Linked DNA regions of Homo sapiens: regions 1 and 3 are each linked to region 2. Evidence: promoter capture Hi-C in human tissues and cell types (Jung and others, 2019). All regions are on one chromosome and are shown on one strand. The core of a region is centred on a gene start or on the middle of the fragment in contact, and the rest is flanking DNA. Distances in the headings are between cores, read along the strand shown.

Evidence for each region. The method cuts DNA at HindIII sites, captures the fragments that hold promoters and counts their contacts. A contact is called where the count stands out against the background at its distance.
Region 1: a fragment that was not itself captured here is called in contact with the fragment with the promoter of MADD in region 2 in 1 of the 25 tissues and cell types used here (lymphoblastoid cells).
Region 3: a fragment that was not itself captured here is called in contact with the fragment with the promoter of MADD in region 2 in 2 of the 25 tissues and cell types used here (IMR-90 fibroblasts and dorsolateral prefrontal cortex).

Annotation. Positions count from the first base shown.
Region 1 is chr11:46,871,292-46,873,991 of GRCh38, reverse strand. LRP4 (LDL receptor related protein 4) reads left to right here. Exons shown (of 38, transcript NM_002334.4): 29 at 399-617; 30 at 758-892; 31 at 2,359-2,467. LRP4-AS1 (LRP4 antisense RNA 1) reads right to left here. Exons shown (of 3, transcript NR_038909.1): 3 at 1-918. Among named protein-coding and RNA genes, the nearest start is that of LRP4-AS1, 26 kb to the right of the region's middle. The HindIII fragment of the contact is 4,299 bases long and covers 1-2,700 here.
Region 2 is chr11:47,268,851-47,271,550 of GRCh38, reverse strand. MADD (MAP kinase activating death domain) reads right to left here and starts at 1,418. Exons shown (of 37, transcript NM_001376571.1): 1 at 1,305-1,418. It overlaps NR1H3 (nuclear receptor subfamily 1 group H member 3), which reads right to left. Exons shown (of 10, transcript NM_005693.4): 10 at 2,518-2,700. It overlaps MADD-AS1 (MADD antisense RNA 1), which reads left to right. Exons shown (of 3, transcript NR_120569.1): 2 at 410-472; 3 at 571-894. RefSeq lists enhancers at 1,359-1,653, 2,127-2,236 and silencers at 1,127-1,656, 1,867-1,976. The HindIII fragment of the contact is 15,703 bases long and covers 1-2,700 here.
Region 3 is chr11:46,830,844-46,833,561 of GRCh38, reverse strand. All of the region lies in intron 1 of CKAP5 (cytoskeleton associated protein 5), which reads left to right. Among named protein-coding and RNA genes, the nearest start is that of CKAP5, 14 kb to the left of the region's middle. The HindIII fragment of the contact is 9,291 bases long and covers 1-2,718 here.

The DNA.
Region 1 (2,700 bases), core at 201-2,700, 400 kb after region 2:
TCTACTTGTATTTAAAATTGTTTTTAACTTTTAAAAAATGCACAGGTTGGTTTTGACAAATCTGCGTTTCTTATCATCACCACCTAGCAATCCTTGTCTCTTCCCAAAGGTATGTGGGGAATGATAAACTTGTCTTCTAGCAAGACATCCCCTGGCAACCGCCACTATGTCCAGTTAGCAGGAAATACTGTGTCCTCCTAAGAACTGGTTCCTTCATTCTGCAATTATTTTATTGAACATCTATCATGCTGGGTGCTGAGGAATGTACTCATAGATACCTGGTCTCTATCCCTGTGGAGCTTACAGTTCAGTGGGGTCCAGTTATGGGAACATGGGTTAAAGTTCTACTCTATTCTGGGTCAGTCTGGTTGCTCATCCAACACTGGGCTCTCCCCAAGGCGAGCAGACCTGAACGGCAGCAACATGGAGACAGTGATCGGGCGAGGGCTGAAGACCACTGACGGGCTGGCAGTGGACTGGGTGGCCAGGAACCTGTACTGGACAGACACAGGTCGAAATACCATTGAGGCGTCCAGGCTGGATGGTTCCTGCCGCAAAGTACTGATCAACAATAGCCTGGATGAGCCCCGGGCCATTGCTGTTTTCCCCAGGAAGGGGTAAGTTTATGGCCAGCAGAAGAGAGATCCAGGGAAGAAGGGCTGGGTGGAAAGATGGTGTTAGTGGGTCCTCTGTGTTCTCTCAACCTCTGGGTGCTGTCTTCCCATGCCTTGATGATGATGGCACTGTTGTGTCTCAGGTACCTCTTCTGGACAGACTGGGGCCACATTGCCAAGATCGAACGGGCAAACTTGGATGGTTCTGAGCGGAAGGTCCTCATCAACACAGACCTGGGTTGGCCCAATGGCCTTACCCTGGACTATGATACCCGCAGGTGGGAGTCTTGCATCAAACAGCCTCCTGGAAATCGGGTGGGCAGAAGAGAGAATGGTTGAGATTAACCTTGGAAAAATGAAAAGATAGAAAGCTTCTTGGTATGTGGGGAAGAGGAATCATTGAGAAGGATAAGGGAATATATTCTTAGAGCAGCGATTGCTAAATCCAGCCCTCAACCCTTATGTGGGTTTTGTTTGGCTGGTTTACATGTTCCTAATTTGAGTGCCTTTGGCAGAGCATGTCTTCTGGCTGGACCACAGGTCTCACACCCCTACTCATTTAAGGGCTGATTCTTATATTTGTTATAATATAACAAATCCTGATCCCTTCAGGCTCTGGAACTTTGTTGTTGTTGAGACAGCATCTTGCTCTGTTGCCCAGGCTGGAGTGCAGTGGCGCAGTCACAGCTCTCTGCAGCCTGAACCTCCCTGGCTCAAGCCATCTTCTTACCTCAGCCTCTCAAGTAGCAGGGACTATAGGCACATGCCACCATGCCCAGCTAATTTCTAAATTTTTTGTAGAGACAGCATCTCGCTATGTTGCCCAGGCTGGTCTCGAACTCCTGGACTCAAGCAATCCTACTGCCTTGGCTTCCCAAAGTGCTGGGATTTCAGGCATGAGCCACCACGCCCGACCCAGGCTCCGGAATGTACAACTCCTTGTCTAGATAAGAAATGCTAAGGGCAGGGGGAAGGGGCTCTAAAGCAGTCTGTGCCCCCTTCTGATCCAAAAGAAGGGGAAGGGAATCCAAGACTTCTGGAAAGGTGGTAGAATGCCTTCTTCTTTTAACCTCAGCAAGGTCCATGTAGACTGGGCTCACTTCCTTTTTTGTTGTTGTTGTTGAGACAGAGTCTAACTCTTTTGCCCAGGCTGGAGTGCAGTCGCACGATCTCGGCTCACTGCAACCTCCGCCTCCTGGGTTTAAGCCATTCTCGTGCCGCAGCCTCCCAAGTAGCTAGGATTACAGGCACGTGTCACCACGCCTGGCTAATTTTTGTATTTTAGCAGAGACGGGGTTTCACCATGTTGGCCAGGCTGATCTCGAACTCCTGACCTCAAGTGATCCCCCGCCTCGGCCTCCCAAAGTGCTGGGATTACAAGCGTGAGCCACCATGCCCGGCCGAGTGAGCTCTCTTCTTAAAGACCATTTGTAAGAAATTGGGCTTTGATTATTGGGTAGGAGTCAAAGGGCAATCAAATTCCTGAAGATGAGGCTGGGTGGTGGTTCCTCTGAGGTCACTAGACTTTCTATGCCTCCCCAGAGCAGCCCTGACCTCCCCACTCATGAACCACCAGCTCCCTTCTTCAGCTTTGGGACTCACAATGACCCCTCATCGAGGGTGCTTCTTGAGTTCTCATAGCATCTGCCAGTCAGCTCAGGAGGGGACAAACAGGTTCATAGGGGGAAGAGCTGGGCTCCCTGGCAAGCGTTTGGAGCAGCCACTCTTTTCATTTTCTTCGCAGGATCTACTGGGTGGATGCGCATCTGGACCGGATCGAGAGTGCTGACCTCAATGGGAAACTGCGGCAGGTCTTGGTCAGCCATGTGTCCCACCCCTTTGCCCTCACACAGGTACTGGCTCAGGAGAGAGGTAACTAAACCTCCTTGACTGGGATGTTTCTTTGGGGTTCTAAGTCAGCAGTCTCAGCTATAGCTGCTACTGAACAGACGTGCTATTGCAGCTCATTTTAGGGATTTTTCCTGTGCCCTGAAGCCTTGGTAGGTTGGTAGGGCCACCGAGTGCCTTGCTACTCTTATCCTGCCATTCCCATGTTCTAGCATTCAAAGGAGTGGCTCTCAAAGAG
Region 2 (2,700 bases), core at 169-2,668:
CCTCTCTAGCCTTGGTGGGATCTCAGTCCCTCTCCACTGACAACTATCTGACGAAACTCAAGTCACTCACAATCATTTCCTTCCAGAGCCACAAGGACCCTGAGATCTTGTTATTATTCTAGCTACGGGTGGTAGGATAAATTTTTAGCCAGAGTTCACATCTGATCAGCAGCCACTGCCTTCAGTTATTCAGATTGCAAAGATAACTAAGATTTTCCTTCTCATTCTCTCCTCTCTCCCCTCCCCAAAAAGACTAACACCTTTAACTCCTCTAAAGACTAAATCCTCTAACATCACCCACAACTCACACTCTTGTCTTCACAACCAACGAGGCTCCGACTCTGCCTCTTGCCTCAACCATGTTTACTAACGTAGAGCCTCTGGTTCCTATCTTCCTGTATTCCAAAAGCATCCAGCTCAAAATGCATATCTATCTGCTGAAGTCCGACATCACCATCAGCTCCACCCAGAGGTAGATTTAGGATTCACAAACTTTTAAGTTATCTATGCCTTTTCAGCAGAAATAGCCATGCTAACCAACCCTTTGGATTCGTCCCTCATTTTGGACAGGATCTCACAGTAAAACCACAGGAACCAGAGAGCGATATGACATCTCTGCTGACGTGAACACAACAGGAGGCTCTCCTCCCCTCCTCTACCTCCCCAGGCAGTGACCTTGCAAGCTCATCAGCACAGACTGGTCCAGCGTATGGGAGAACTGGAGCAAGGAGGCTGGCAGCTGGCAGGGTTGGGGTAGAGGGGAGGGCAGGGAAAGGTGGAAGAAGGTAGATACACGAGGATGGGGAGGAGAGCGATTGCAGAAAGATGAAATGGTGTTCTCTCTCCAGCAAGTCAATTTTGAAATATCAAGTTAAAAAAAAAATTTCTTGAGAACCAAACGTGTTTCTCCAAATTCTAGCCAAAAATAAGGCGCAAGCACGCACACGCACAAGCACACCCGCCAAGCGCTGTGCGGGTTCGGCCCCAGGGCTGGCCAGCTCTGCCCGCCCCCTCACCTGCTGGACAGTTCTCCCCCGCCCCCGCCCCCGCCCCGAACCTGAACCCGAGCCGCCCGCTCGGCAGGAACCAAGCCCAGTAGCCTGAGCCCCCTCCTCTGCCCGGGGCGCCCCCATCCCCGTCCCCGCCCCTCCTCGGCAGACCCCCGTCCCCACGCCCCTTCACACTCCCCCAGGGCCTCCTGAGAGACCCCTTCCTCCAAGAGCCACGGTGTCCTCTCAGAGCCCGTCTCCCGCTCGGAGTCCCCAGACGCTCGCCCAGGACCCCACCGGCCCAGACTCTCCTACCTCCCAAGCTCTGGGGGACTGGCCAGGCCCAGCCCGACGTCCCCCGGCAGCGGGGCGTCAGTCGCTCCCCAGCGCGGCGCCGCTCCGAGCGGGCGCCAGTTCCGCGTCTGCACTGGGGGGCACGCACCACTCGCGCGGGGTGCGGAGGGGGAGGCCGGGGCCGGGGCCGTACCATTCAGCCCGGGGGGCCGGGGCTGCACCGAGCCGAGCGCCGCGGGGCGGGGCCGACCTCGGGAGACAGCGGCTGCGCACAGACCTAGCCTAGCGCCCGTGGGCGCGGGAGGGCGCGCCAGGCCGACCCAGCGCCGTCGCGTGCCAAGTGGGGGACCCACAGCAGTACCTTCTGTTTGGGTTGCTCAGAGAGACTCTCACCCGACGGGGTCATAGCGCCCGTTTCGACGACATGGGGATTCCTCTGAAAGTCACTTCCCAAGATAATCGGCCCCTGAGACTTCCTGACGGGCTCCCCATCCCCCAGTCCCCACCCCCCACTCACGCGCTTTGGCGGTGCTCGGCGTCCGAGCAGGGAAGCCGGCTGCCGAGCGGTGGAGCCTACCAATCCTGGGCAGCGGGGGCAGAGGGGGGCGCGCGGCCGCGGTTACCTCCACCGGGCGCGCGCGGGGAGTGGGGGGGCGTGGCCGCGCCGCGGCGCCCGCTGGGAGATGGAGTCCAGTCAGTCCGCGAGGACAGCCCCGCCTCAGGACATCCTCCCCGCGGCCACACGGCTCTTCTCTTCCTGTCCCAAAGGGCCTGGGGACCGACACTGGGTTCTAGGTCTTTCAGGTTGTGCCTTTTTCAGATGCCAAAGGAAAAACCAAGGCATGCTACACATGCACGTGAGGTGCACCGCCGACGCCTTAGCGCTGAAATCCAACACTTCCTCCTCCACCGCAGAAAGGCAACCGGATCCTACCCGGATCCCAGCAGGGGAAGGGGGCGCCTAAGCCTCAGCATTCCATTTACCCATATGGCGCAGTGGGGGTTAGTAAGAAGAGGCCCCCTCTCACGGCCAAGGCTGTCATTTGTGACTCTCCCTCCTCTGGGCCTGGAGGCGGATCCTAAAGATCGCAGGCTTCCTCCTCTATTACCGTGTCCCCACCCCCAATCCAGAAATTGGTTTCTCTCATTTTGTATTCATTTTGATCTTCCTGTTCAAACAGTACCAGACCTATCAGTGAGGCGGCGCTGAGGCATTTATGGCCATACCACAGAGTGACAGTGGAGAATTTTTCTTGGGGCCCTGTGGGAAAAACAGGAAGTGGTGGAGGCAGGATGGGCAGGGCTCTGGAGAACCCTGTGCAAAGTGGCCCCCAGGCCCATCCGTTTGTGGGGTCAGCATGATCTTCAGACACAGCACAGTGTTAGCGAGGGCTCCACTGCTCAGTAGCCACAAAAC
Region 3 (2,718 bases), core at 152-2,651, 440 kb after region 2:
GCTTGCAGTGAGCCGAGATCCGCCAGTGCACTCCAGCCTGGGCGACAGAGCCAGACTCCGTCTCAAAACAAAAAAAAAATTAATAATAATAACAATAATATAGTAATGATAGCTGTGGTTTACTGAGTGCTTGGTGTTTGCCATGAAATCTGTTAATACTACTACTTACTTGCATAAAATCCACTGGATTTGTTTAATTTGACCCTTTCCAATCAGCCTTTCTCTTATTTGGTCACATGGGTCATATTTTTGTTCTTTACTCTTGCCTGCATCTTTTAGAGATCCACACACATGCCTGAAACATTCTCTGTTGTCCCTACTTTTTGCCTTTGCTTGGATAACCCCTATTAATTTCATTTAGTTTTCAGCCTGAGTATCACTTTCACAGGGAGACCTTCCCTGAACCCCGCTGCCCCAGTCTAGATTAGATTCCTCCGTCATACTCTCTTATTGTACTTTGCCTCAGGGCTATTGTGGTGCACAGCCTATACTCAGCATCTAGATGAGCATCTAACACCGAATAGCCTCACACTATCTGACAAGCACAGTTGTCAGGACAGGAGAATAATGTGAATATTTGTGGGAAAAAAAATTTTTTTTTTTTTGAGATAAACTCTTGCTGTGTCACCCAGGCCACAGTGCAGTGGCTCAATCATGGCTTACTATAGTTTCAACCTCCTGGGTTCAAGCAGTCCTCCCACCTCAGCCTCTTGAGTAACTGAGACTACAGGCGCATGCCACTACACCTGGCTATGGAGGGAATTCTTAACATGTAAAAGGCAAAATCTCATTTAATCTTTACAACAATGATTAGATGAGTCATGTTAGGCAAGTTACTCTGTTTGCCTCAATTGCCTCATTATTAAATAGGGATAATAATATCAACTTCAAGGTTTTAAGGATTAAATGAGTAAATACATGTGAAGTGCTTAGGATAGTGCCTGGCACATAATACGTGTTCAAGAAGTGTGTGTTAAATAGGGAGCAACATGAAGATGGTATTGTTATGATGATTGATAAAACTGAGGATCAGCTGGTTTGTGGCAGAGCAAGGTTTACAACTCAATCTGTCTACCTCCAGAGCTCAACATGACTCCAGGTTTGCACTAAATTTAATCTAGAGTAGAGCTTTCTACAGTAAGATTTCTTTCAAGCAACTGTTTTACTGCCATGGCTTTGCCAAAGTGAAAGATTCTAAAAATGAAATTACCCTCTTTTAGTGGATCTTATAATAAAAAAGTAACTAACTAGGAAAATAGTGGCAAAAATCTTAGAAAATTTCAAAATAATATTACTGAGTGATTTTTTTCACTTTGAAAAGGGTTTACTTCAGAATTTTATTAAATATATATTGTTTTCTCAACACATTTGAAATACACATTCTACAAAATTTTCTTTATAAGACCAGGCGCAGTGGTTCATGCCTGTAATCCCAGCACTTTGGGAGGCTGAGGCAGGCAGTTCACTTGAGTCCAGGAGTTCAAAACCAGCCTGGGCAAGTGGTGAGACCCCATCTCTACAAAAAGTAAAAAAGTTGGGCATGGTGGCAAACACCTGTGGTCCCAGCCACATGAGATGCTGAGGCAGAAGTTTTGCCAGAGCCCCGGAAGTCGAGGCTGCAGTGAGCCATGTTCCTGCTACTGCACGCCAGCCTCAGTAACAAAGCAAGACCCTGTCTCAGAAAAAAAAAAAAAAAAAAAGGATAAGTTTATTGTATATTTAAGACTTCTGACTGGGTGGGGTGGCTCGCAAGTGTAATATCAACTCTTTGGGAGGCTGAGGCAGGAGGACTGCTTGAGCCTGGGAGTTCGAGACCAGCCTGGGCCACATAGTGAGACCCTGTCTCTACAAAAAAATTTAAAAATTAGACAGATGTGGTGGTGCATGCCCCAGTAGTCCTAGCTACTCAGGAGGCTGAGGCAGGAGGCTCACATGAGGCTGGGAGGATGAGACTAGAGTGAGCAGTTATTGCACCACCATACTCCAGCCTGGGCAATGGAGCAATACCCTGTCTCAAAAAACAAAAAACAGAAAGACTTCTGTGACTTGATGAAATGGTGCCATTTTAGAAATTTTACACTAGAGCACAAAGCACTATGCAATGCTGGGATAATGAATAAGACTCAGTTCCTTCTTTCAAAGGAGATATCATGTATACAAAAAATGTTAAGAGAGAGAGTGAAGTGTAGCCTATGGGATGAGTATAGGCAGATGATCCAACTTCAAGCCTCTAAGTGGGAATTTTAAAGTTTTAAAGCTTTTAAAAGCATTATTTATCATCTAAGCGGGAGTTAAATAAAGAAAAAGTAAATGAAAAAAATTTAATAATATAAAAAATACAAAAACATTATTATAAAAGATGCTGAAGCTCATTATTAAAAATCAGAAGGCATGGATGGGTATTAAAGTTCAAAGTAAAAGTTTTTTCAAAAAAATTTCTTTGCTTAACCCTTAGACACACTCTCAGAAGTCATGGTTAACAATTTTTTTCTTTTTTGAGACTGATTCTCACTTTGTTGCCCAGCCTGGAGTGCAGTGACGCGATCTCGGCTCACTGCAAGCTCCGCCTCCCAGATTCACGCCATTCTCCTGCCTCAGCCTCCCGAGTAGCTGGGACTACAGGCACCCGCCACCATGCCCGGCTAATTTTTTTGTATTTTTAGTAGATACATGGTTTCATCCTGTTAGCCAGGATGGTCTCGATCTCCTGACCTCGTG